Linked DNA regions of Homo sapiens: regions 2, 3 and 4 are each linked to region 1. The links are contacts of gene promoters, found by promoter capture Hi-C in blood cells and fetal thymus (Javierre and others, 2016). All regions are on one chromosome and are shown on one strand. Each heading gives the region's core, a stretch centred on a gene start or on the middle of the fragment in contact. The rest is flanking DNA. Distances are from core to core; before and after follow the strand shown. Region 1 holds the start of FCHSD2 (FCH and double SH3 domains 2). Region 2 overlaps ARAP1 (ArfGAP with RhoGAP domain, ankyrin repeat and PH domain 1). Region 3 overlaps STARD10 (StAR related lipid transfer domain containing 10). Region 4 overlaps FCHSD2 (FCH and double SH3 domains 2).

Region 1 (7,341 bases), core at 3,551-6,050:
ATTTAAATATAGCCAGTTACATTCGACAACAAGGGTATAAAGATACAAAAATGAATAATAGCCCATAACTTCAAAGACTTCATCTGAGGGAGGATGCCAGAACCATGTGCAAAATCAAAATCCTTTGAGATCACAGAGAACAAAGAACTTGCAGTTATTGGTAATCAAGAATTTGTCAGGTGAAAAAGTGGGAGGAAGGGTACCAACAGGCAAAGACAACAGCATACACAGGGGCATGAATGTAGAGTGCACAGTTAGACAACCTGACGTCCCGAGTGACCAGAGCAGGGGGAAGAAAGAGGAAGGATGCATGGGCATGAAACGGTAGTAACTAAGCCAGGAAAGGAAGCTTGCAGCTGGGTTGCAGAGAACCATATATACTATGACAAAGTGTTTGACCTTTATCCAGAAGGCCACAGAGGAGTGATCTATAATAATGTTTTTAGAAAGCTAACTGGTGGTAATGTGGAAGACATATTTAAAAGAAGAGATGGGAGATGGAAGATATAAGGACACTACTGCAATAATTAGGATACTAGTATATTGCAAGCAAAATGTGATGGATCAGCAATAATACAAACTAAGCAACAGCAACAGGAGCAACAGACTATATCAACTTAGCTTAGATGTGTGCCACATCTCATATGTATTGTCATTTGATCAATACAACCTTGGGCAACAGAGGCCATTATTGCCCCATTTTACAAATAAGAAAAATTAAGTTTATAAAGATTAATTCATTTTCTACAAGTCAGCACAGATATCAGGACACAAACTCAGGACTGTCTGACTGCAGTGTCCATATTCTTGACCATAAGCTCCTGCACCAAGCTACAGACAACAGGGGAAAAATGGAGACAAAACGCAATCAAGAAGTCTTTAGAAGACACAACCAACAGAAATTATTACAACTACTGACCACCCATACCCCACACGGGATCTTCACTTACACACTAATTCTGCCTTCCTGAACTGCTTCTGAAAATGTATTACTTTCTTCATCTAGATATTTCTTAGTTTGCTTAATAAGTTAAAAAAACCTTACATTTTTAACCATGTCAAGAGTTTCAGATATCTTGCACAGGAATTTTTTTTTTTTTTTTTTTTTTGAGACAGGGTCTCACTCTGTTGCCCAGGCTGGAGAGCAGTGGTGCCATCTCGGCTCACTGCAACCTCCGCCTACTAGGTTCAAGCAATTCTCTGCCTCAGCCTCCTGAGTAGCTAGGACTACAGGCGCACGCCACCATGCCTGGTTAATTTTTGTATTTTTAGTAGAGACAGGGTTTTATCATGTTGGCCAGGCTGGTCTCGAACTCCTGACCTCAGGTGATCTGCCTGCCTCAGCCTGCCAAAGTGCTGGGATTACAGGTGTCAGTGACTGCGCACGGCCTCGCATAGGAATTTTTAAGTCTAAATATTTTCTTATGGCTATGATAAGGGAAGGAAGACAAATACAGAATTAAAATTGTAATTTTCAGTCAGAAAACAACAATCTTGATATATCCAGGTTGGATGAGAATAGATTTATATGCCTTAGTCATAAACCCTGAAGACAGGTATACAGCAGAAATGCTTATAGTGCCTAAATATAGGAGAGGAAAAAAGGAAATTCTTGAAACTAAAATCTTTGGGCTATAAACAGCAATCCAAACACATAATTTTATCATTAACACCAGAGTTAATATTTTTCATGAAACCAACACGAAGTTAGTGTACCACCAGAAAACTAGGTAACTGATGAGGCTTACAGACCCAATTCCAATTTGATAAATGTATTATACAAGGGAAATAAGAATTGCAGCCACTCTTGCTTCACCATGCAAATCATCTTCCATTCTTGACGAAAATCTTTGTTGAACTGTCAGTCTGTATTACAAGATTGTTAAATAAGTGGTATTTCTTTCATTAAAATAAGTCATCCATCCCTCTAGTAAGAAAGATACTGATTTTCACAATATTAGCAAGATGTCTTAGCTATTCAAAGTTAACTTGATTATGAATATGAGTAACCTCAATAATAAAATAAAATATGATAAACACACTTCTCACTAAATTTGGCACTCAAAAACAAAGTTGTATTTGTCATGTTCTAACCCAGTGAGAGCATATAACCATCTGGGGTTGACTGGCTCACCCCCAGATATTAACCATTAACCACAAGTGTTGGTTTAAAAATCTAACTGTGTAAAACCGTTAAGGTCAATAAAATGATTGTTACAATTCCGTGGAAAGATTATTTAAACAAGAATCTTTAATTATTATAATTTGACTAGTAAGACTTTTAAGGTCCTTGTTTTTTCTGAATACTATGTGTGCATTATAGGTCCCCCACTGAAGGAAAAAGTTTGTATTGTGTTAGTTCCAGTTCTAATTTCCAGCTGAGTCAAAGTTCTAACAGCCTTAAAGCAGGAAATCCAAAAGGAAATTCCATCATCAGTTCCTGGGGCTTGGTAACTCAAAGGTTCTTTGAAACAGACAAACAGAAGTCCTTGAACTATTTACTATAGCCTTACCTCATATCTTCAAGCAAATCACATTCTGCTTGATGTTTGGCTTGAAGTTTTGTCATCTGCTCAACTTGAATGTTTTTCAGTTCTTGTGTAACTTTCACCTAAAATATACCATATATTTATGAAGGTCTTTTTACAAATTTAACCCAAAAAAATTGCTTCAGGAAAATACATCTGTCAGAATATGTCTCTTGCTCGCCTCTCCCCTGAAGGCCATAAATCCAATATTCGCCATCTAGTTTTATTTATTGAAGATACTTATTTAATGAAAAATTAAAGCCAAATAGCCTGAACAGAGGTTAAATGAAAATACACGACTATAAATATTACAAACTAAAGACGTGCAAAATAAACTGCCAGTCATTCCATTTCATGCACAAGCTCAATCCACGTCTAGGTCTTCCTACAGTTTTAAAAGAGCCTGTCTTCTATTTCTAAAAAAGATTCAAAGACATTAACCACCAGGAGAGGTGAGCAGAGTGTGGATGGGGGCTGGGAGCCTAAGAGTGCCTGATACCCAATGACCAATATTTACACAATCATGATAATATGCCTGAATCGACTACATAAATTACTCCATAATGGCTGCGAAAAAGCACACTGTCTCAGAATGATGCCCTCGACTTGCTGACAGCGCATCAAATCACAATCTCTTTCTCACAAAGGAGAAAGCAAAAGTGACCTTCCAGCATATGCAGTGCTTTTAAACTACCCCGGGAAGCCGATCCCCGTGGAGGCTCCACTTCAAACAGCGGAGAACAGCAAATGCCTGCTGGCCAGAGAGCCTCGCCCGCCAGGCCGGGGCCCCAGGGTTCGAAGTTAACGGTCAGTCTGGAATCTCGGCCTCAGCAGTGGGACCACCCGGAGGGGTGGGGGTACATGTTCGAAAGAAAAGGACTCACTTAAATGGAGAAACCCGGATTAGGAAAGAGAGAAAGCAGCGGCAGCAGACACGGGTGAGTTAGGCGTTAGGCAAATGTTTGCCCACGAGGGGAGGACAGAACGGCCTCATCCACCCAGTGCCCAGAGTAGACATTCAGTATCCATCTGTAGGATTAAAAAGACAAGGACACAGCCTCGGCCCCTGGGAAAGCTGGGGAAGGGCGCAGCGGGGAGACTGATGACAAGCCGGGTGCATCCGTCACTCCCACCCTGGTCATCCAACCCCGGATCGCAGTGCACACCCCACGCACCTCCCGGGCCCGGTCCTCGCTTTTCTGAAGACAGCACGACAGCCTCCTCGCCCCTCAGCCGGGGACGAGGCAGGACCCGTCAATCCTTAATTTGTTTTCCCTTGGGGTGGGGAGGCGGTGACTATTCCAACTTCTTTTCGGCCGCCCCGTGGGAAAAGCAGGCCAAACCCTAAGGCTAGGCTAGAAACAAATCCCCCGCAAATTTGCAAACGGGCGGGGCTGGCGACAAGCGGCTGGAGGGCTCAAAGCTGGTGCAGACTAAACAATCACACACGCACAAGGCTCTGCAAAGCTGCAGGGGCGTCCCCGCCTCCCCCTCGGTGCAGCCCCGAGAATGCACTTTGCAGCGGGCAGCATTGCCATGCGCGCGCACACACACAAATGCACACCCGAAACTCTTGTGAAATGTCTGGGGGTCTCCTGCGTTAGAGGACGGACGAGCCCCGGCGGCCCCTCTGTCGGAAAGGCAACTCACACGCGCGCCCCCCACCTGGAGCCGGCGGCAAGTCGGTGACAAGCCCAAGACGAGGGCGGTCACGGCCCCTTGCGGGAGGGGGAAGGGGCGCAGCGGTCGCCCCAGCCGCGTTCCGCGTACGCATCTCTCCGAACCCCAAAGCCCCCCAGCTGCGCCCTTACCTTCCTCGGCGGCGGCTGCATGATGCTGAAGGGACATCAATCCTCCCCGACGGCAGCGTTAGCAAGGACCAGGAGGAGGAGGAGGGCCGGAGAGGAGGGGACGGCCCAGCGAGCGCGCGCGTGTGTGAAAGGAGCGCTTAAGAAGCAAGACTTGCCCCGGAGGGAGCAGGCCAGCGGGCGGCAGGCGGACCCCAGCCAGAGAGCGAGTGTGAGGAGACGAGGGAGGAGCACCGGGAAGGCTTGGGGCCCGGGCGGCCCGGGCGGCCCGGGGGTGTGTGAGGAAGGAGGCGGAGACGGCGAGGGGGCGGGGGCCCCAGGAGCAGGGGCGCGAGGGTCTCAGCCGGCCGGGCGGCGGGTTAGCCGCAGCCGCGTTGTCCGCGCTCCCGGTCGGCCGCCTGCGCCGCCGCTCCCGGCGGACGCAGCGGCCCCCACCCCACCCACTCAGGCGGCCCGGCCCTCGCTGGGCCTAACGCCCCCGCCCGCCCGGGAGGAGGAAGGTGGCGCCGCTCTCCCCGCTAGGGCTCCACCACTCAGGCCGCGGGAATTTCCGGCCTCGCCGCGCGGCGCAGCGCCCCGCTCCGGATGCTGAGGGAACCGCTCTGTCCAGAGCGGGGTTCGAGGGGCCGGTCCGGGCTGCCAGGAGGGAGCTAGGCCACGGCACGGGGCTTCGTACCGCGGCAGGGGAAGGGGGAAGCTAACGGATTGGTCGGTGGGTGGGAGGTGTAGAAACGCCAGCGCCACGCGAAAATCCCCCCTTTCTCTCCGAGAGTGGCACGTTCCAGACGCCTCCTGCCCTCCCTCCCCCACGCTGGGAGCCAGCCGGGGGCTTCCCGCGCGCTTTCCCGCCAGCTCGCCCCGGCGCGCGCGTCTCCGCTCGGGGGCGCGCACGTGGGCGGGAGAGGGCTCCGCGCCGACGCACGCGCACAGGCCGCCCCCGCCTCCTGCCTGCCTTTGCGTGTGTGTGTGTGTGTGTGTGTGTGTGTGTGTGTGTGTGTGTGTGTGTGTGTGTGTGTGTCGGGGGGCGCGGGGGACGACGCTCGCAGGGAAACGTTTGCAGTGGGGAGGGGGGCGCAGCATGCCTGTGGGATACGAGAATTCCGGCGTTTTCTTCCTCTCAGCCCCTCAACACCCTACTCTCCCTACCAGCTAGATGTGCGCGAGAGAGGCGAGCAAGGACAAGTCGCTTTGCGGCTGGCCGCAGGTGCCAGGCCATTGCGATTGTAGGGCGGAAAGGCAGTTGCTCTGCAAAGGAAACGGCGGCACTCTACTGCAGGGCATTCAAGTCAAACATCACTGACTCCGCTGAGAGGGAGCCAAGAGAACGTTAAGGCCGAGGCCCCCGTTTCACAGACGGGGAGGCAAGTGCCCATAGAGGGAAGCCTTTCTAAAGGTTACACAGCAGGACTAGAATCTGCGTCAGGAAGTGTTCTATGGGTTATTTTAAAAAAGAAACAGGTGCAGGATAATAAGCACGAGGAAAAGTAGAAGAGGCAGGAGAGGCCATAGAGGAAGCCCTTGTCTGGGAGTCAGGATCTCTGGGTGCCAGTCCACTTTGCCTGCTCCTTAACAGGCTAGGTGAGCTCGGCTTCCTTATCTGCCAGTGAGGGTGCTTATCTAAGCAGTGCACCCCACCACCACACATGAACCTTCCTGCTCTGTTCAGACCATCTACGGGGGAGTTTATCGACCTCCCTTGGGGTCCTCAGAAGAGGAATACCTCTTCCCCATGCCCAGGGAGGTTTTTTTTTTTTTTTTGAGTCACGGGGCTGTGTGGAGGCTGAGCTGGATTACTCCACCGTTTTTTCAGAAGTTGAGATCCCAGACAGCTGTTCTCAGAAGTGCAGTCAGGCCTAAGAGGAAGGTGAATGAGGCCTGGATAGACGAGTAACTTCCCAGATGACCACATGACCAGAAATTGAAAAGGTGGAACTTCAACCCAGGTTGTTTACATTGAGTTAGACTAGATTCTTGTACAGAAAAGTGACAGAGCTGTGTTTTGAATAAGATTAATCTAGAGCTGTGTATGAACTAGGAGACTAGTCTTGCTTTTTCTGGCTTCAAAAGTTAGCCCTTCACCAGAATCCTTAATCAAATCAGGGAAGGCCTGGGGCAAGGGGACAGGTGGATGGAGGCCCAGGGCCCTGACAGCTGCGGGGTGGCAGCTAGAGCCCAGGCCATAGGTAGCGTAGGCTGGGCTCCAGTCTCAGCTCCACCACCAATTTATTGTGAAGCGTTGAGCTAGTCAATTCACTTATTTCAGCCTTGTTTCCTCACTTGTAAAATGGAGGTATAATGCTAGCCTCATAGGCTTACTGTATTAAATAGAATTTCTCCTACCACAGGGCCTGGCATGTAGTGCTTAATAAGTGCTTATTGAGGCCAGGCGCGGTGGCTCACGCCTGTAATCCCAGCACTTTGGGAGGCCGAGGTGGCCAGATCACAAGGTCAAGAGATCGAGGCCATCCTGGCTAACACGGTGAAACCCCGTCTCTACTAAAAATACAAAAAATTAGCCAGACGTGATGGCGGGTGCCTGTAGTCCCAGCTACTCAGGAGGCTGAGGCAGGAGAATAGCGTGAACCCGGGAGGTGGAGCTTGCAGTGAGCAGAGATGGCACCACTGCACTCCAGCCTGGGGGACAGAACGAAACTCCGTCTCAAAAAAAAATAAAAAATAAAAAATAAAATAAGTGCTTATTGATTCATCATTCATTCAAAAAATACTTGCTAAAGTCCTGCTTTGTTCCAAGCCTGTGCCAGGCACTGGGGTTCTAGAGATGAGCAAGATAGAATCAGCCTTCGCCAAGACTGAGTTCCAGACCAACCATTCCTTGAATGACACTGGGCTAGTGGAAGAGGAGTAACACAGTACTTGGCCCGGATGCAGTGTCATGCACATAACAAGTGCTTAACAAAGATTTGCTGAATCCTAGTCTTGGGTGCAACTGGTCTGGCCCAGAGATTATCCTCCCTTCACCTCTCTTCTTAGGAAGTGAGCACTGG
Region 2 (4,929 bases), core at 2,430-4,929, 450 kb before region 1:
AGGACTTGAAGTATCACCCTGAATCAGATTGTATGTGGAGGGAGAACTGTACATCCTCCCCCAGCACCAAACTGGAACGAGCGGGTGTGATCAGAGAGCCTCGGTTGGCTGCCTGTGTCTATGTTCATCTCAGATTATTCATTTCTCAGCCCTCTCTGCCCCATGGAGGCTCCAGGGTTGACCGTGTGAACAGAAGGCTTGAGGGACCAGCAGTTACTAGCTCTTTGGTTCCACAAGGAGGCTAATGACTCAAGCTGAAGCAGAACAGCTGTTCAACAGACCACAGGAAGAACTTCCCAATGGTCTAGGTCAGGAAGCGAGAGACCAATGTACTGGGGAGGGACACCAGATTGCCAAAATGTTCACCTCTGGCCCCCGCCTCTGCATATGGGTCTGGGCTTGGAAGGAGCAGGCTGGCTCGGAGGCAGAGGGATGGGGGCAATGACCCCCAAGGAAGAGGCTGGTTGGAGGTCAAGCTAATGAGGCTTCCTCCTGCTCTAGGAGCCACTTGCTTGAAGCCCTACCCCTACCAGGCACCCCTGGAGTCCACAGGGGCACCAGAGTGAATGGCAGGGGAGGGGGATTCACTTACAACCGAAACTGGGGGTCAAAGACTGAGCCACCTCCCCCCTGTTCCCCACCATTGCTCCCAGCCACCACCAGGCATGGCTCCTCAGCAGGGGCCAGAGAAAGGACAGCCAGGGGAAGGGGAAGTTTTGGGAACTGGTGGACTTCCTGTGATATCACAAAAGGATGGGCTGCTTAGGGACTGGAGAAGACCTCTGTGCTCTCACAGGGGGTGTGGCTTAGGAGGGCCTTAGTAAGGACTTTTCACTCTGCTTTTACCCCGATACCTGCTGATTGGAAAGCCTCATGTCTTCTACAGACAGCACCTAACCTGATGATGGCCATGTGCCCAGGAGGGCCTGGAACCAACTGGGCTGCAGGCATGGAACAATCAGGGCTGCAGACAGGGAGGAAATTAGGCAGGCGGGAGGAAATCAGGCTTCGGACATGGAAGAAACAAGATGTGGGGGAATATAAGGAAGAAACCTGTAGGCACACACAGAAGAAGCAAGGCTGGGAGCACTAGAGCAATCGGCCTGCAAACTGGAAGACAGCTGATGGCAGAAATGGAAAGACTGAGACAGAGGCTATAAAAGAGATTCGGCTGCAGGCATGGAAAACACAAGGTTCTGGGTATGAGGAAGGATGTGGGGGAAACTGGACTCCAGGTACAGGAGGAATCGGCTGAGGGGATGGAAAACAGGCTGTGGGTTTGGAAGAAGTCAGGCTGTGGGTGGGAGGGGAACAGAACTAGAAGCAAGCAGTCAAGTGAGTTGAGGGTGGACGGGACAGGCCCAGTCAGGCGCAGAGGCAACTGCAGGAATCAAGACATTCAAACCAGGCTGTGGCTCCAAGAATGAAAACACAACCCTCAGGCCTCCGATTCCTTGGGGTCTGATGTGCATGACATGTGTGTGATGTAAGGGTGGCTGAGTCAGAAAGTCTGCAGAAGTGGGTCTTGGGAGGGAAGGATGTCAGTCAATGCAATCTCCTTTTGAGAATGAATCCCCCAAGCTGGAGTGTAGTGGTGCAATCTCAGCTCACTGCAACCCCAACTCATGGGATCAAGCCATCCTCCCACTTCAGCCTCCTGAGTAGCTGGGACTACAAGCATGCACCATCACATCCGGCTAATTTTTATAGAGACAGGGTTTCACCATGTTGCCCAGGCTGGTCTCAAACTCCTGGACTCAAGCCATCCTCCCACCTTGACCTCTCAAAGTGCTGGGATTACAGGCATGAGCCACTGCACCTGGCCCAAGGACATTTCTAATCAGACGGCTCATGTTTCCAGCATCTCCAAGGCATGGGGCCATGGGCAGACAATGACGTTTACTCTTGATGCTTAAGGATCTCTGCTGGAACCAAGATCTTTCTAGCATGTGCCTTTTCCAGGTGCCTCAGGGTCTTTAACAAGAGGAGACCCCCAGGATAAGGCACAAGTGGACATATATCCTACTGAATCACCTGAGATTGTCCCAATTTCAAATATTCTGTCCTACTGCCGCATAAACCAACAAATGCCAGAGTTGATAACCCCGTGGTAACCAGCTCACATCTGCTCAGGGCCTCTGCCAGGCCAGAGGTGTTGGCTGTCTCTGGGGTGTGAAGAGCACCACCTACCCTGTGCTGAGCACCCCTCCCTGCTGAGTCCTCAAGTCTGAGACTTCCAGGAATACAAGCTTGCGTTTCCACACTAAGAAACCTGGGTGCAAGTCCCAGTCTACACTTATAGATGGCCTTGGGCAAGTCACACAAAGCCTGTTTTCTCACCTGGAAGTGGGGACAGCCCTCTTCCTCAGAGAACAGTAGTAAGGATTCCATGTCTCAGTATGTGAAGGGCCAGCACTAAGCCAGGTTCCTTAGGGAACATTAGATCTCATCCCTTTTTCTAGCTCTCCTGCCTCCTTCCTTCCATGCCCAGGGATCCACACGTCCCTTTCCAGGTACCTCAGCCATCTTCCCTCCCTTCTGCCCACAGTGAGGGTTCTAAACACTCCTAGAGGGAGGCGGCCAGGGAAATAGCATCCCAGAACCAAGGGGGATTGACTGGATGGGCAGATAGGCTCAGAAGTGAGGATGTGATCACAGAAGAGGGCAAAGGAGAGAAGAGACGGTGTTTCCCACAGGGTTAGCAGGAGCCCAGGATGCATTAGAGGAGGCACAAAATGCAAAGAGAAGGAGATGAGGTCCTGCTCTATCTGCTCTGCTCCTGCCATGGCAGCCAAGCCTGTTCAGATGACCTCAGGAAATGCAAGGGGCAGGAAGAGGCTGAAGACACTGGGGATGGGGTGGTGGGTAGCTGTGGGAGCTCAGGCTAGACCACCAGGCTTGGAACCATGTCTCTGTTGCCCATCCTGCAGGGCAGCAGTCCCCAGTCTTTTTGGTACCAGGGACCAGTTCTGTGGACAACAATTTTTCCATGGGTGGGGGGATGGTTTCGGGATAAAACTGTAAAACCTCAGATGTTCAGACATCAGATTCTCATAAGAAGCGCACAACCTAGATCCCTCGCTTGCACAGTTCACAGTAGGGTTCGCACTCTTACGAGAATCTAACGCCGCTGCTGACCTAACAGGAGGCAGAGCTCAGGCAGTAATGCTCACTCGCCCGATGTTCACCTCCTGTTGCACGGCCCTGTTCCCAACAGTTGGGGACCCCTGCTGCAGGGCATCTATGCTCTGTAGCCCCCAAGGCATAGCTGGGACCCATGGGGGCATCATGAGATGCAGATTCTCAGCAGAACCTGAGCAAGGACCTTTTCCAGACAGAAGTATCCCCCTAGGAACAGGGCAGCCCCAAGGGCGGAGGGATGAGCTCTCTCTCCTAGGAGTGTGCAGAGTGGAAATAGCCAGCCAGGAAGCCTCAGAGAGACTGCTACCCCAGGTGGGGGTATCCCACAAGCCTCTCTCGTCCCACCCCGGCATGTTAGGATCAGGGCAGTAGCAAGAACATTCTGACAGTCCTGGAACACTGTCCAGGGTTGGAAATAAGGTGGCTCCAGGGATGACAGGAGATGAAGATCAGGGCTCTAATTCAAACCTAGGTGCCATCATTACTGGCTCTTTAACTTCTACACTAAGTCCTTTGGAAAATTCTAGAGCATTGCACTGATAAGGAACCCTATATTGGGGAAAGGACCCTGGGACAGGATTAGGGATAAAGGGGAGGAGCTTAGGCCCCAGGATAGGGGCCAGTGCCAACGGGCAAGGGGGCAGGGATCCATGCCTGGAGATGGCCAGGAGCCCTGGCTGTCTCCCCATGCTCCCACCCAGCTCATTTGGCCCCCAGGTGGTGTAAGGCAGCTGGCAGTCAGCCCACAGCTACTCACGGTCTCAGGGGCCCCGCTCCACGGCCTCTGGCTCTGTTTGATAGAGGATCAGGGTTATGGAAGAAGTCCCAGGTCTAGAGCCAGGACAGCATGTGCAGTGATGTGTGGGGTTGGGGTGTGTGTATGGCATGTATGTGCAGAAGGTGGAGGGTGTCAAATGGAGTCTGGGTTGGGAGAACACCTGCATGTGGACAGAATGAGGGAGAAGGGTGGCCCGGGAGGCATATGACATACGATATGACAAGGCATGCATGCACAACTTGGGGCTGTCATCAAGTAACAGGTTCCTGTGGATGCAGTGATAAGGCACAGGCACAGTGAGACAGAGCATGGGCATGGAGTGGTGTGATGGCATCCGGGTGCCAGGGCTTAGTGGGGCTACAGGGCACACTAGAGTGGCCGTCCAGGGCCACAGCAGGAGGGGTCTTGAGAGTCTACAGTTCTCCCCCACTGCTGTGCCATCCTGAGAGCCTGTAACGGGAATATTTCCACTTGCAGACCAAGGGGAATCTCTGAGCACATTCAGGTGTACAGGTGCCCACCCTGGGGCAGAACCCAGCGGGGCCACTTACCCGGACCTCCTTGTAGAGCCGCAAGCAGCTGCTGTTGAGGATGAAGTAGCGATCGTGGAAGCCACCTGAGGGCAGGCCCAGGCCCAGGAGGCTGCGGTCCTCACGGAACTTCATCATGCCATGCTTGGTGTCACCGACACGGCTGGCTGGGGGGTGGGACTGGAGTGGGCACAGGCTGCACCAACCCCTACCCGGGGCTGGGTCCCAGGATGAAGGAAGCTGCCCCATCCTGCCCCAGCCTCTCCATAGAGGCCCACCCACTTGGCGCCCTCTGTCTGAGCTGTTCCTACCTGGCACCACCAGGTCCCACCCTGGCTCTGGAAGAGAGGACCACCCGGAGCCTGGCCACCCTGCAGGCACCACCTACCCAGGTACAGCAGCATGGCCTCCATGGCCTGGTGCTTCTTCACCACCAGGTGGCTGTCCGTGCCCAGCCCGTGCAGGATGGGCAGCACCTTC
Region 3 (7,341 bases), core at 1,918-4,417, 380 kb before region 1:
TGAGGTAGCCCGTCTGGATGGACACAGCTCGGACCAAGTCTTTCCGAGGTGGGTATTTCTGGGGATGGAAGGCACAGGGAGGTGAGACTCGGGGTGGGGGCAAAGAAGATGTTTTTGTGAGTATACACAAACGCGCACGCGCACACACACATACAGTTAATTCACATGCCGTGACATCTGTTACAGATCAGTCCTGATTCTGGGTGCAGAGAAAGGGAAGAACCAGAGTAGGTCATCCTAGCCCCTCTTGAAGCTTTTCCTGTTCCCCTCAGAAAAGCCCCCAGTCTGGGGTCAGGGCTCATGAGCACATATGGGCACTCACAGACACACACACTCACCCTTGCCCAGGCCAGCTATACCTGCCTGTCCTTGCCCAGGGAGATCAAGGTGGCTTAGCCTCAGGGAGGACCAGAGGACCCTGCCTCTCACCTCTTGTTCCTCATTTCCCTGTCCCAGAGCCCAACCAATCGAAGTCAGCCCATCCCACCCACTTGCCACAGAGGTGGCCACACTGCCCTCTCCTGATCTGCTCAAGAGACCCAGCAGGGAGAGAGGAGCCATTATCCTCACTGTACAGGAAGGAAACTGAGGGCCAGTGGGCCCATGCCTGCCCGAAGTCATATTGAAGTCATGGTGGCAGCCTCAGCCTTGCGCTGCCTGACCCTCTCCCCTGCTCCACCGCAGGGAAGGCAGGTTGACTCACGGGATGTTTGACTGAGTAGTTCATAATGATGTAATCAGCGCCCATGGGGAGCCAGGAGCGGAGGGTGATGACATCACGGTTCTTCAGGGGCTTGGGACACCTCCCTGTGGGGGGCAAGGGACAGTTCAGCCAGACCACTGGTCCACCTGCCTACAAGGGAGGGTGTGGCAGAGGCCAGAGATGCAGGGATGCCTAATTAACTGCCAGCTCTCCAGTGCAAAGATACACCTCCCTCCCAGACCACAGTCCCACAGCTGGAGCCAGAAAAGAGACAGGGCAAGACCTGTCCCTACTGTCTCCAGCCAGCCCTGCTCCTTACAGCCTCACATAGCCCTTACATTGTTGGCCTGGCTGGTTTGTCTACGTGAACGTGAGTGTACAAGAGAAAAACAGTATGAGTGTGCATGAAAATGTGTGCCTGGGACTATGTGGCATGTGGGTGGGGGCTGTGTGCCTGATTGAGTGTATGCCTATGTGTGTATGTATATACGTGAACATGTGAGTGCATATGTATTTGTAAGTGTATGGGTGTGTGCCTAAGGGTCTAGGAGTGGACAGGGAGGGCAGCTCTATCTCTCAGCACTCAAGTCTCCGAGCAGCTTGGTCATGTGAGTAACCACAGGAGGGAGGGGGGAAGAGGAGGCTTGGTGGGAGGCCTGGATGGAGGCCAAGGGGACTGGGATCAGCGTGCTACGCCTGCTCACAGGAGTAATAGCCCACGTCAGCGTTGACTGTCAAGCGGGCGATGTCAAAAGTCTCAATGACGTTGCTGTCCCATTTCTTGCGGTACTCAATGTCGTGTAGGACGTCGTAGAGTGTCTCGGCTGGCACATCACAGCACTCCATCCGGCACTGCAGACAAGATATATGGGTTGTCAGGATCATATGGGGCTCAGAGCCTTGGCCAGGGGACCAGAAGGCAGACAGGCAGAGGGGGAGGAAGAGAAAGAGGACAGCAAAGAACAGGGGCCTCTGAAACCAGCATGGACTTCCTTCTTGCCACAAGCCCTGTCCAGCTCCCCAAAAAGCCACCTGTGCCAGGAGACAGACAGCCTCTGTATCCAGAGACCATCTCCCCCGACTCAGCCCAGTCTCCTCCTCCAGGAAGCCTTCCCAGCCAGACCTTCTGGGCTCCCACACAATGCATCTCTATGTCTGTGCCCTCCCAGACCCCTGTGAGCTCCTCGTGGGCAGAGGCTCATGGTTGCTTCAGCCTGGAGCCTGGAATAGCTACATGTTAAATGAAATGAAAGCATAAATGAAAGTCGAATGCCAAAGTGGATGATTTATTTCCTCCCTGGTACTTATCACGCGGCCATACCACCTGTCCTCTTATTTGTGGTTTGTTTGTTTGTTTTTCCTTCAACAAACATCTTTGGATTTTTTTTTTCTTTTTTTGAGATGGAGTTTCGCTCTTGTCACCCAGGCTGGAGTGCAGTGGCGCGATCTTGGCTCACTGCAACCTCTGCCTCCCGGGTTCAAGTGATTCTCCTACCTCAGCCTCCAGAATAGCTGGGATTACAGGCACGTGCCCAGCTAATTTTTGTATTTTTAGTAGAGATGGGGTTTCACCATGTTGACCAGAATGGTCTCAATCTCTTGACCTTGTGATCCACCCACCTCGGCCTCCCAAAGTGCTGGGATTACAGGTGTCAGCCACCACACCCGGCCTGGATTTCTTTCTTTTTTTCATTCATTCATTCATTCATTTATTGAGACGGAGTTTTGCTCTTGTTGCCCAGGCTGGAGTACAGTGGCGTGATCTCGGCTCACTGCAAGCTCTGCCTTCCGGTTTCAAAGGATTCTCCTGCCTCAGCCTCCTGAGTAGATGGGATTACAGGCACCTGCCACCACTCCCGGCTAATTTTTTGTATTTTTAGTAGAGACGGGGTTTCACCATGTTGGCCAGGCTGGTCTCTAACTCCTGACCTTGTGATCCACCTGCCTCTGCCTCCAAAAGTGCTGGGATTACAGGCATAAGCCGCCGCGCCCAGCCTGGATTTCTTACTGTGTATTAGCCTTGCCCTCAAAGAGCTTTCCATCTGGGTAGAAGACGGCCAAGGACACCTTGTTTTATTTAACCCCCTCACCAACAACTCTGTCAGATAAGAAATCCAAGGAGGAACTTGAGGCTCAAAGAGGTTAAGTAACTCGCCCAATGTCACTCAGCTGGTAAGTAGCAGAGCCAGGATTTAACCCAGATCACATGTCTGGAAAGCAAGTAAAATCAGAACGAGGTTTCCCTAGGTTTGCACTCAGTGAGATGAAACTCAATATCCTTGTTCTGTGATTTTTTTTTTTTTTTACCCAAGTGCCCTATCCCCAAGATCAAGTTCCTCTCAGCAAATGGACAAGTTTTCTTGTGTAGTTTAAAAAGATCTCCCAGAACTGGCATTTAGACAGTGCCAAGGGAACCCTCACATAATACTTTTCCACTCACAAGAGGAGATAAGCAACCATATGAGGGAGAGGTCACACTGTCTTCCCCCTCATCCCAGAATAGGCCTTGGCCCCACTAATGGTGGTGGGATGCCGCAGGAAGGACACACCGACACCTGCTAGCTATTCTAGGCACCAAGAAACCCATCACGCCTTGGATATAACTTCAGTTTACAGAAAATACAGAGGACAGAGGAATGAGCTAAGTGACACCACATGAGAATGCAACCAGACAGAGCCAGACAGTGAATCATTCCACGGGACTCCTGGCCCAGGCTCTTCTACTGGTCAACGTAAACAAAGGGGCTGGGTGGGACTGACTGGCAGGACATAACAACCACATGTAAAGTGTGTCTCTGCATTGCAAACTGATTTGGACACACCATCTATAAAGGGGATTTTTGGGACAACTGGAGAAAAGTGAACATGATCAGAGTATCAAATGCACTGAAAATTTACAGAAACAAAATGGTGGAAACTGCTGCCTAAAAAAAGGTTACAAAATAGGTTGGGCGCGGTGGCTCATACCTGTCATCCCAGCACTTTTGGAGGCTGAGACGGGCAGATCACTTGGGGTCAGGAGTTCGAGACCAGCCTGGCCAACCATCTCTACCAAAAATACAAAAATTATCTGGGCGTAGTGGCACATAACTGTAATCCCAGCTACTCAGGAAGCTGAGGCAGGAGAATCGCCTGAATCTGGGAGGTGGAGGTTTCCGTGAGCCGAGATCATGCTGTGTGCTCCAGCCTGGGTGACAGAGCAAGACTCCATCTTAAAAAACAAACAAAAAAAAAGCAGCATAACCTCAATTGGGGGAAAAAAAATATACGCATAGAGGAAGCTCAGGAAGCACAATTGCTAAGGTGTTAACAGTGGAGATCTCTAAATGATAGATAGGAATGTGATGGTTTCATTTTGCTTGTCTGTATTTCTTTTTCTTTTCTTTTCTTTTTTTTTTTTTTTTTTTTTTTTTGAGATGGAGTTTCGCTTTTGTTGCCTAGGCTGGAGTGCAATGACACGATCTTGGCTCACCGCAACCTACGCCTCCCGGGTTCAAGTGATTCTTCTGCCTCAGCCTCCTGAGTAGCTGGGATTATAGGCACCCACCATCATGCCTGGCTAATTTTTGTATTTTTAATAGAGACGGGGTTTCACCATGTTGGCCAGGCTGGTCTCAAACTCCTGACCTCAGGTGATCCTCCCGCCTCGGCCTCCCAAAGTGCTTGGATTACAGGTGTGAGCCACTGTGCCCGGCCACTTGTCTATATTTCTTATTATCTAACATGTATAGTACTAATTCTGAAATAATGAAAACAATTTGGAAAGGTCCCCCAGCAATACTGACAGGTGCACCCACCATGTGCCAGGTATTACACTAAGTGCTTTATACACATTATTTTATTCTTACAGCAGCGCTCTGGGATATTGGCCCCATTATAGGATTAAGAAAAACAAGGTTCAAGGACAGACTCGAGACTGCAATATTGTTTGTGTCACCCTAAACAATTCACCCTCCCTTTCTACCCCATTTACCTTTCTGCTCTATAATGGGGCATAACTAGATCCAACCATTTAATCAGCAGCCCCCAGCTCCAGCCCTGTACTGAGCCCAGAAGAGTCAGAGATGAATTCGAGGCCTGTCTTTGAGAGGTCTGCAGTGAAAGGAGGAGCCCACCTTGGAAATGGGGAGATGTCCTAAAGTGCTCATTGGGGGCATAAGAAGGAAATCAGCTCCATGGGCTGGGTCGGGGGATCAGGCTTCATGGAGAATCTCAGTGCAGGAGGTAGGGGTTTGCCAAGTGCCCCTGGCAGAAAGAACAGCCAGCCAAGGTGCAGAGGCAGGCAAGAGTGTGGCCTGTGGGCAGTGAATGAGTTCCATCTGGCTCAGTCTCCGTGGTGTGGTATAGCCTGCTACTCAAAAGGTCCCTGGTTCTAGGTCTTCTTGGAAAAATGGGTGATTCCAGGGCTGGGTCAGAGAAAGTATAAGATGAGCATGGAACATCTTCTTGTGCCAGGAAGTAAGCAAATACTCAAAGAATGATAGAGATTTTGGACACCGGAACCAGCTTGAAGGGCTCTTCCCCTGGCACAGTGGCCAACTCTTCAAGGTTTACCGAGGACTTCCCCAGTTTTACCACTGCAAGTCTCACATCCTGGGAAATCCCCCAGTCCCAGGCAAGCTAGGACAGTTGATCACTCTACCATGGGCTCAATCTGAGATAAGCTGCATATTAAACTCAATAATGACCATAACTGTAGATATTCCATCGAATAAAATAGGAAACCAAAGTCTATACAGGTATGAATAAACAAGTAAATGGAATGTTTGATGAGGAATGGGGGATTTACATAGTTTTAAAGTAACTTCCCATCAAAATACTTATTAATTACAAAGGGAAAATTAGTCACTTCATAGTAGAGAAGCCTGGCAAATAGCACCTTAATCAAGTGATCAAAGGGAATCTCATTAATCACAGGACAAGTTGCTGTCAGGTGTTGCCTGGTAGGACACAGTGAGAGGAATACAGGTATCACTTCTGTGCTACCTCTGCCACAGAGACATAACATAAATAGAATCACAAGGGAACCTCAGACAAACCCAGAATGAGGGCTTGTCTCATTTTATAAAATAATTGGCCTATAAGTGTCAGGATCATGACAGTCACAGAGAGAACTACATTAGACTGAGGAGACTAATGAGATGTGAGTGACTGAGTGAATGAATGAAGGAACAAAGTGAAGGGAGGAACGCGATGGTGAGAAAGGGGGTTGAAGAAGACAGAGGCCGGATCTGGCATCATCGTTAGCATCCAAACAGCCTCCTAAGCGGCCACAGGGAGGTCCAGGCACTGCCCCAAATGTTCAACACGCACTCATTCTTCACCCTAAACCTAGCTGGTGGTCGCTGTTATTATTCCTGCACTGAAAAATAGAAAACTGAAGCTTGGGGGATTCAGCAACTTGCCCAGATCATAGGGCCTGAAAGCAGCAGAGCAGGGACTCAAAATCGGATCTCCCTGTGTTCTTAACCATCAAAGAGCACTCAAGCGTGGCTTCTGAGGAAACCAGAATTTCTCTAAATCCAAATTTGGATGCTAGTTGGCTCTGCAAATCTTCAAACATGTTATCCTGGACCATGAGTGGATGGAGGGGCAGTGACAACAAAACCCTGCTTCCCAGGTTAGAATCCAACCTGGGACTGCCTCTTCCCTAGCCAGGCTCAGTGCTCCCAGGGCCCAGCTGCAAAGCAGCTGAATGCACACTGGGAAGGGGCCCATGCTGCCCCATCCTCCTTCCAGAGGCTCCCAGAGCAGGGCTGTTGAGGCTCCAGAGGCCAAAGACCCACCTCTGGGACAGAGGACAGTGGCCGGAGCATGCAGAGCCACGAGACAGACCAGTTGCTCAGCGTAAACTCTGAGTAGCACTTTATCTCATAAAGAGAAACTTCAAAGGTTTCCCAGGCTAGTGGCAGACTCTTGTGGAGGAAGGCCTCTGCCCAGAGAGTAAGAACCTTTGCTGTGGCAGCGCAGGTGAAGAAACTGAGGCAGGCCGGGTCGTGGGGGTCAGGTAAGTGTCCACAGGCCTCCCTAGCCTGGCCTGGCTCGTGCCCTTTCCATAGCCCCCAGCAGGCAGCACTGCTGCGCTAAGCAGAAGAAATTACACCCATCTTTGTTCCTGCGGGCGGCGGTGGCCACGCCCCAAAGGTGTAATTCTAAGAGGCTTGGGGAGGGACAGGTGGCGGGGTAGGGCTGAGTCTCTGGAGAGCACCAGGTGGGCGGGCCGGTACCAGGAACCCCCAGCTATTAGGCCCTGGCTGAGTGAGTGTCCACACCAGATGTTGCCGTCAGGTGTTGCCTGGTAGGCCATCTTGGCTGCCCCCGGAGAAACTCCCCCTGGAAACAGGAACCCAAGGGGTGTTGCTCCACCAAGGAGCCATGCTGGGCTTGAGTACGTTTAAAGCCTGGTGACAGCAGGGACCCCGACATGCAGTGGTATTACATTTGAGAAAACAGGCCAGCCAGGTGCGGTGGCTCACTCCTGTAATCCTAGCACTTCGGGAGGCCGAGGCGGGCAGATCACCTGAGGTTGGGAGTTCAAGACCAGCCTGACTAACATGAAGAAACCCCATCTCTACTAAAAATACAAAATTAGCCGGGGTGGTGGCACATGCCTGTAATCCCAGCTACTCAGGAGGCTG
Region 4 (7,341 bases), core at 1,709-4,208, 270 kb before region 1:
CCGGGCTTCAGCTTTCAATTTAATTATCTAGAGAACCAAGAAAATGGTCGGAAATCAAGGCTTTTATTATTCACAATAGCAAAGATAAGGAATCAACCCAAATGCCCATCAATGATCGACTGGATAAAGAAAATGTGGTACATATACACCATGGAATACTATGCAGCCATAAAAAGGACAGAGATCATATCCTTTGCAGGGACATGAATGCAGCTGCAAGCCATTATCCTCAGCAAACTAAGGCAGGAACAGAAAACCAAACACTCCATGTTCTCACTTGTAAGTGGGAGCTGAACAATGAGAACATACGGACACATGAGTGGGGGAGAACAACACACACTGGGGCCTGTCAGAGGGCGATGGGTGGGGAAGGAGAGCATTAAAAAGAATAGCTAATGGAGCTGGGCTTAATAGCTAGGTGATGGGTTGATCTGTGCAGCAAACCACCATGGCACACATACCAGGATTACTTTTGCACCACCCTAATAACAAACCCGCACATCCTGCACACGTATCCGGGAACTTAAAAGTTGAAAAAAAAATTAGCTAGGCATGGTATCATGGGCCTGTAGTCCCAGCTACTTGGGAGCCTAAGGTGGGAGGATCACTTGAACCCAGGAAGGGGAAGTTGCAGTGAGGGGAGATCGCACCACTACACTCCCGCCTGGGTGACAGAGCAAGACTCTGTTAAAAACAAACAAACAAACAAACAAACAAACAAACCAAGAAACTATATAACCGTCATGAAAGGAAATTACTTAAAAGGAAAAAAAATCATACATGATCCTATCAGTCTTACATGGCAAATATTCTCAAGGCTTTGTCCACATGCAGACATATTTTTGCACAACTGTATTCTTGGTGGCAATGCAGCTTAGCTTTTACTTTTTAAGTTACCTTTTTTTTTTAAATTTTTTATTTTTTTGAGATGGAGTCTCACTCTGTCACCCAGGCTGGAGTGCAGTGGTATGATCTTGGCTCACTGCAACCTTCACCTCCTGGGTTCAAGCAATTCTCCTGCCTCAGCCTCCCAAGTAGCTGGGATTACAGGTGTGTACCACCACACCCGGCTAATTTTTGTATTTTTAGTAGAGGCGGGGTTTTGCCAAGTTGGCCAGGCTGGTGTCGAACTCCTGACCTCAGGTGATCCACCTGCTTCAGCCTCCCAAAGTGCTGGGATTACAGGCATGAGCCACCTCACCCAGCCAAGTTACCATTTATTATAAACTTCTTGTTTATATCCCTATCAAAAAAAGGAAATCAAGGCTTTTTTCCCTCAAATTAATTAAGTTCTTCCTAATCGATTAATTACAACAATCTTGATATTCACTAGCAATTCTTCCCTGGCACAGATGCTAATTTTTCACTTGAAGCAGGGCAAGAGAAGGGGAAAGGGAGGGGAGATAGTGAAGAAGGGAAAGAGAGGGTTGGGGGGAGGGAAGAAGAGAGAGAGAGAGACAGAGGCAGAGAGACAGAGAACATGAACAAAAGAAAGGAATCAGGGTCTCCTAACAATGGAATACTTGCTTTTTTTTTTTTTTAATAAAAGTATGGAATGCTTCACGAATTTGTGTGTCATCCTTGCATAGGGGCCATGCTAATCTTCTCTGCATCATTTCAATTTTAGTATATGTGATGCTGAAGTGAGCACATACTTGCATTTTGACAAGGGCATGGTATTGATGATAGATCAAATATAACTTGTGAAGAGGAAGAGATCAAGAGTGATAAAGTCTGTTTCCTTTTCCTGTTCATAATGCTATGCCTCAGAACACCCTGAAATCCAGCATTTTCAGTAGCCTTCTAACCCATTTCCTGGACTTTTTCTCCTCTGTAATCCATCTTTTACAGTCTGTGAATGACCTCATCATGTTGCTCCCCAGTTTAAAAACTTTCATAACTCCTGACTGTCTACTGAGTAAAGAATTAACTAATTCTTAACTAGGAATAAAAAATATCTTTCACAGTTTGGCTGAGTTATTTCCTTCTACTGTTTCTTTCCACACCCCCCTATGCTCCCACCCCACTGTCCCACTTGCTGTTCCTCTGATCCATCATGTGCTTGCGTGCCTGTGTGCGTGCCAGTCCCTCTGTAAAGGCCTTCTCATTGCTTTTTGATGCCTGGTGAGTGCTTATCTTTTGACGGTCCGTTCAAATATTACCCTTTCCACAAAGATTTTTCTAAGTATTTCTCAACCTTCCTTAGGCAGTTAATAATTCCTTTTTCTCTGCTCCTAAAGCACTCTATATAGATCTAATTACAATGTGATAGGCACGAAATTATACTTAGCTATTTAACTAAGTATGCCTGTTTGATATAATTGGGGGCTCCTTTAAGACTCGAGCATTGACATTCAGCGTTATTCTCCTGTTATGTGTTCAGTAACCTTTTTTGAATAAATATCCTATATAACTGTGCTTCTACTTTTCCAAGAAAAGACTGAATAGGCTCTACCAATTCTTTCAAGATTGGCTCTACCAATCTTGAAAGACTGCCATTCAATGATATTGAGTTATAAACTACTGTGTCTCTTTAATAATAATAATTTTTAATATAAAAGAACTTCTCTCTAACAATTCTAACATTCTTCAGCACAAGCTTAAAGAATTCCCCCTTTGGGCCAGGTGCGGTGGCTCACGCCTGTAATCCCAGCACTTTGGGAAGCCGAGGGGGGCAGATCACGAGGTCAGGAGATCGATACCATCCTGGTTAACACAGTGAAACCCTGTCTCTACTAAAAATACAAAAAATTAGCTGGGCGTGGTGGCGGGTGCCTGTAGTCCCAGCTACTCGGGAGGCTGAGGCAGGAGAATGGCGTGAACCCAGGAGGCGGAGCTTTCAGTGAGCCGAGATTGCGCCACTGCACTACAGCCTGGGTGACAGTGCGAGACTCCGTCTCAAAAAAAAAAAAAAAAAAAAAAGAATTCCCCCTTTGACTTGGCTGCCTTTATTGACTAACTTGTTTGTTGACTAACAGTAATGTCTTTGCTTTTAAACTACATTTATGATGTGGCTGGCAGAAATAGCAGAGATTGAGAATAAAAAGTTCCTATTCTCCAAATTCAAGAAAGGGAATAACTGCTTATTCTTTAGCCCTTGTTCCATAAACCATAAACAAGTAACCACAGAACTAGTTTTAAACCCCTCCCGATCAGAAAGTAACTGCTGCTTTGCTCCAACAGCCATGCCTCTGAAAGTCAGCTAATCTGTGACAGCTTCTGCTTCTACTAGTCCTCCAAACTCTAAAAACCAAGGCTGAAAGTGAGCCAACCCCTTAAACATTCCTAGTTTTGAAAATCTGCCAATCCCTGACATTCAAGCTTCTCAAAACCCTATATATCAACTCTTGCTTTGTTCAGAGTCAATGTGTTTTGTGTCATTCTCTTTTGCTTAGCAAGTAAAACATTCAGCCTCTTTTGCTTAGCAAGTAATGCATTCAGCTTCATTGTTTCACATATGCAAGTGGTGATCTCTTCCTTAACATTTAAGGTTCCACTAAGCTAATTTTAGGTTAAGTAAGGTTCCACTTACTTAACCTAAGTAAAGTTCCACTCTCACTTGGTGGCTTTCTGTGGGACTCTTGGACAAACAAGTTGGAGCTGGTGCAGTGGCTTGTACCTGGAGTCCAAGCTACTCAGGAGACTGAGGAGGCAGGCTCACTTGAGTCCAGGAGTTTGAGGCTGCAGTGAGCTATGATCATGCCTGTGAATAGATAGCCACTGCACTCCAGTGACAAATACCTTTGGTACATAATTTTTTTTTTTTTTTTTTTTAGAGCCAGAGTGGTTGCTCTTTTGCCCAGGCTGCTCTTGAACTCCTGAGCTCAAGCAATCCTCCTATCTTGGCCTGCAAAAGTGTTGGGATTACAGGTGTGAACTGCTGTGCCCAACAGGTACATAATTTTGATTTCCCTCCGAATTCTCTGCTTGGGGAGTTGATATCAAAAACAATTTATGTTCTGACTTGTATCACTGGGCTTTCTTTGCTGAATTAATTTTTTTTATATTAACGTTTTTAAGCAAATAGATTTTTATAAAAATTGAGGTAAAACATTACATAAAATTTACTATCTGCACCATTTTAAAGTATACAATACAATGGTTTGGGGTATCATATACGTCTTTATATAAGACAATTGGAATTTTTGGCTTAGAGGCACTCCAATTGGTAAATACTCTTGCAAAAATCTGCTTATTCTTTTCATAATTTCTTTTTTTGGTAAAACTTTATTGACATATAGCTCAGGTGACAAAGACCTTTTGGCACACAACTTTTTTTTTCTTTTCTTTTTTTTTTTTTTTTTTAGAACCACACAATTCACTCATTTCAAGTCTGAAATTCAGTGGCTTACAGTATATTCATAGTACATGCAACCATCACCACAGTCAAATTTAGAATATTTTATCACCTCCAAAAGAAACCATGTACCATTTACCTATTGTTCTCCAGCCCCCTATTCCCTGCAGTCTTGACAATCACTATTCTACTTTCTGTCTATAAAGATTTGCCTATTCCAGACATTTAACACATATGAAACAATATAATACATGGTCTTTTATGACTAACTTCTCTCACTTTGCATAATATTTTCAAGATTCATCTATGTTGTAACATGTATCAGTATTTCATTTTTTTAATGGCCAAATAACATTCTATTGTATGGATATACATTAGAATGTTTATCCATTTGTCAGTTGGGAGTCATTTAGGTTGTTTCTATTTCTTGGCTATTATGAATAATATTGCTATAAACGTGTGTGTATAAATTTTAGTGTGGACATGTTTTCACTTCTTTTGGGTTTATATGTAGGGCTGGCATTGCTGGATCATGAAGTAATGCTAAGTTTAACCATCTGGGGAAATACTAGACTGTTTTTCAACGTGGCTTTATCATTTGATCCCACCAGTAGGGTGATGAGGGTTTCTCCACATCCTGGCAAATGCTTGTTAATGTCTGTCTTTTGACTCTAGCCATGCTAGTGGATATAAAGTGGTATCTTACTGTTGTTTGCATTTTCCTGGATAACTATTAATGTTACAAATCTTAGGCCAGGCACGGTGGCTCATGCCTATAATCCCAGCACTTCGGGAGGCTGAGGCGGGCAGATCACCAGGTCAGGAGTTTGAGACCAGCCTGGCCAACACAGTGAAACCCCATCTCTACTAAAAATACAAAAAATTAGCCGGACACGGTGGCGGGTGCCTGTAATCCCAGCTACTCAGGAGGCTGAGGCAGGAGAATCGCTTGAACCTGGGAGGTGGAGGCTGCAGTGAACCGAGATCGCGCCACTGCACTCCAGCCCAGGCAATGGTGTGAGACTCTGTTTCAAAAAAAAAAAAAAATGAATCTTTTCATGTGCTTATTTATGGGTCATTCATACATCTTCTTTGGAGAAATGTCTATTCAGACCCTTTTCCCATTTTTAAGTTGAGTATTTTTGCCTTTTTATTATTATGAGTTTTAATATATTCTAGAAGTAAGTTTCTATCAGATACATGATTTGCAAATATTTTCCCCCATTCTGTGGGCTGTCTTTCATTTTCTTGATAGTGTCATTTGAAACATGAAAGTTTTAAATTTTGATGATGTCTAATTTATCTAGTTTTTCTTTTGCTGCTTAGGCTTTGGTGTTATATCTAAGAAACTAATCCAAGGCCACAAAGACTTACCCCTGTGGTTTTTTTTGTAAGTTTATTAGCTTTCGCTGTTACATTTAGGTATTCATTTTGAGTTAGTTTGTATATATGATGTAAAGTGGGGTTGTTAAGATAATTAACTGGAAGGTCATTAAACTGAGGCAGCTCCAGCATCCCGGGTTCCTACGTAAGCAAACCAAAACTCAACTCAGTATAAATGGTAAAACAAAACTGAAGCTTAACCAATCAAAAACTGCCAACTACCTTCTAACTAGAAACCTTCCACTGGAATGATCCAAAAAAGGATACTACCGTGCCACTTTAACCAATCAAATATTTGCTTTGTTTTGCTTCTGAGTTCACCCTATAAAAGCATTCCTCTGGTGTTCCATTGGTGGAACCCTGAACTGCATATGATCTGGTGCTGCCCAAGTAATTATCACTATTTTCTCAAATAAAAAAAAATTTAATGTGCCTAAGTTTATCTTTTAACAGGGTCAAACTTCATTCTTTTGCATATGGATATCCACTTGCCCTAGCACCATTGTAGTATGCTTTTGCTTTTTTAAGAGACAGGGTCTCACTGTTGCCCAAGCTGGAATGCGGTGGTATGACAATAGCTCACTGCAGCCTCGAACTGCTGGGCTCAAGTGATCCTCCTACTGTAGCCTTCCCAGTAGCTAGGACTACAGGTGCATGCCACCATGCCTGGCTAATTTTTTAAAATTTTTTGTAGAGACAGCTGTCTCACTATGTTGCCTAGGCTGGTCTTGAACTTCTGGCTTCAAGTGATCCTCCTGCCTCAGCCTCCCAAAATGCTGGGATTACAGGTGCGAGCCACTGTGCCTGACCTCTAGTATTCATTTTAAAACAATGAAATGTTTTTATTTTTGTTTTTTAAAAGAGTGAACCAACAAGCTCTTTCTTAGAAATCACATATGCAAGTCATTTAATTGCTGAAGCAGAAAAGAGAGAAGTATTCACTACATTCTATTTTCTCAAAGCAGTTATTCAAGTAATCCAGTTTTTATAAGATTTTGTCAGTATTTTATCAAACAACAGATAAACATGGTATTTGCCAACTCAGATTTAGACTGCAGTCCCAGAATTAAACACTGCTATCTTCCCTTTAGGATTTCAGTTGCTTATAAGTTAAAAATTGTCTAAAAGCAGAACTTTCTAGTGTTTTCAAATGAATTTTCATGATTTGCCAACTTATTAAAAATTTTCAGAGTATAGCTCTCTGTAAACTTGATGGCATTCCAGATACTACTTGACCAAATCATTTTTGGAAGCTTTAAAGAGACAGAGCTTTTAAAAATAGTATTTTAAAAATCCAGATCTTTTAGGATACATAATCTTGGTTTATAAACACAGTCAATTACCTAGATTTTAACACAACATTTAACATAAACACATATAAGTGTAAAGCTATAGTTGAATTTCAAGTCTGTAAATCTAATTTGGACTAATTCATTTGCCTTTAACATATCTCTTCTCTAAGGACAAGGACTGTGTGTAATGTATTACTATTTAGGACAGTGGTTTACTTGTAGAATAGAATCAATAATGGTAGATAATAGTATTTGCTACTCCATCTTTGGTACCTTAAAAAAAAGCTCCAAACAGCTTTTATCATAGGTACTAGGAACTATATCATCATATATTTCATTTAATTCACAAAACAATTCTAGGGGTCAATA

The links. Contacts are between HindIII fragments. The CHiCAGO score rates a contact against its expected background, and 5 or more counts as called.
Region 2: a contact is called between a fragment that was not itself captured here and the fragment with the promoter of FCHSD2 in region 1, in 1 of 17 cell types (neutrophils). The highest score is 6.2, in neutrophils.
Region 3: a contact is called between a fragment that was not itself captured here and the fragment with the promoter of FCHSD2 in region 1, in 1 of 17 cell types (neutrophils). The highest score is 9.5, in neutrophils.
Region 4: a fragment that was not itself captured here is called in contact with the fragment with the promoter of FCHSD2 in region 1 in 5 of 17 cell types (total B cells, M2 macrophages, naive B cells and 2 more); the score reaches 6.0 in total B cells.

The regions. Positions count from the first base shown.
Region 1 is chr11:73,137,518-73,144,858 of GRCh38, forward strand. FCHSD2 (FCH and double SH3 domains 2) reads right to left here and starts at 4,801. Exons shown (of 20, transcript NM_014824.3): 1 at 4,340-4,801; 2 at 2,514-2,611. The coding sequence starts at 4,360. RefSeq lists enhancers at 2,777-3,398, 3,399-4,020, 3,520-3,749, 5,620-5,729, 5,810-5,949 and 1 more and silencers at 3,930-4,069, 4,470-4,849, 5,010-5,389. The HindIII fragment of the contact is 9,673 bases long and covers 348-7,341 here.
Region 2 is chr11:72,688,855-72,693,783 of GRCh38, forward strand. It overlaps ARAP1 (ArfGAP with RhoGAP domain, ankyrin repeat and PH domain 1), which reads right to left. Exons shown (of 35, transcript NM_001040118.3): 28 at 4,838-4,929; 29 at 4,471-4,616; 30 at 3,899-3,931. Among named protein-coding and RNA genes, the nearest start is that of ARAP1-AS2, 9.2 kb to the right of the region's middle. The HindIII fragment of the contact is 2,865 bases long and covers 2,248-4,929 here.
Region 3 is chr11:72,757,827-72,765,167 of GRCh38, forward strand. STARD10 (StAR related lipid transfer domain containing 10) reads right to left here. Exons shown (of 7, transcript NM_006645.3): 3 at 1,408-1,555; 4 at 704-807; 5 at 1-58. Among named protein-coding and RNA genes, the nearest start is that of ARAP1, 9.1 kb to the left of the region's middle. RefSeq lists an enhancer at 5,027-5,236. The HindIII fragment of the contact is 5,833 bases long and covers 252-6,084 here.
Region 4 is chr11:72,868,000-72,875,340 of GRCh38, forward strand. It overlaps FCHSD2 (FCH and double SH3 domains 2), which reads right to left. Exons shown (of 20, transcript NM_014824.3): 13 at 1-27. It also overlaps the pseudogene RNU6-672P. Among named protein-coding and RNA genes, the nearest start is that of ATG16L2, 57 kb to the left of the region's middle. The HindIII fragment of the contact is 722 bases long and covers 2,598-3,319 here.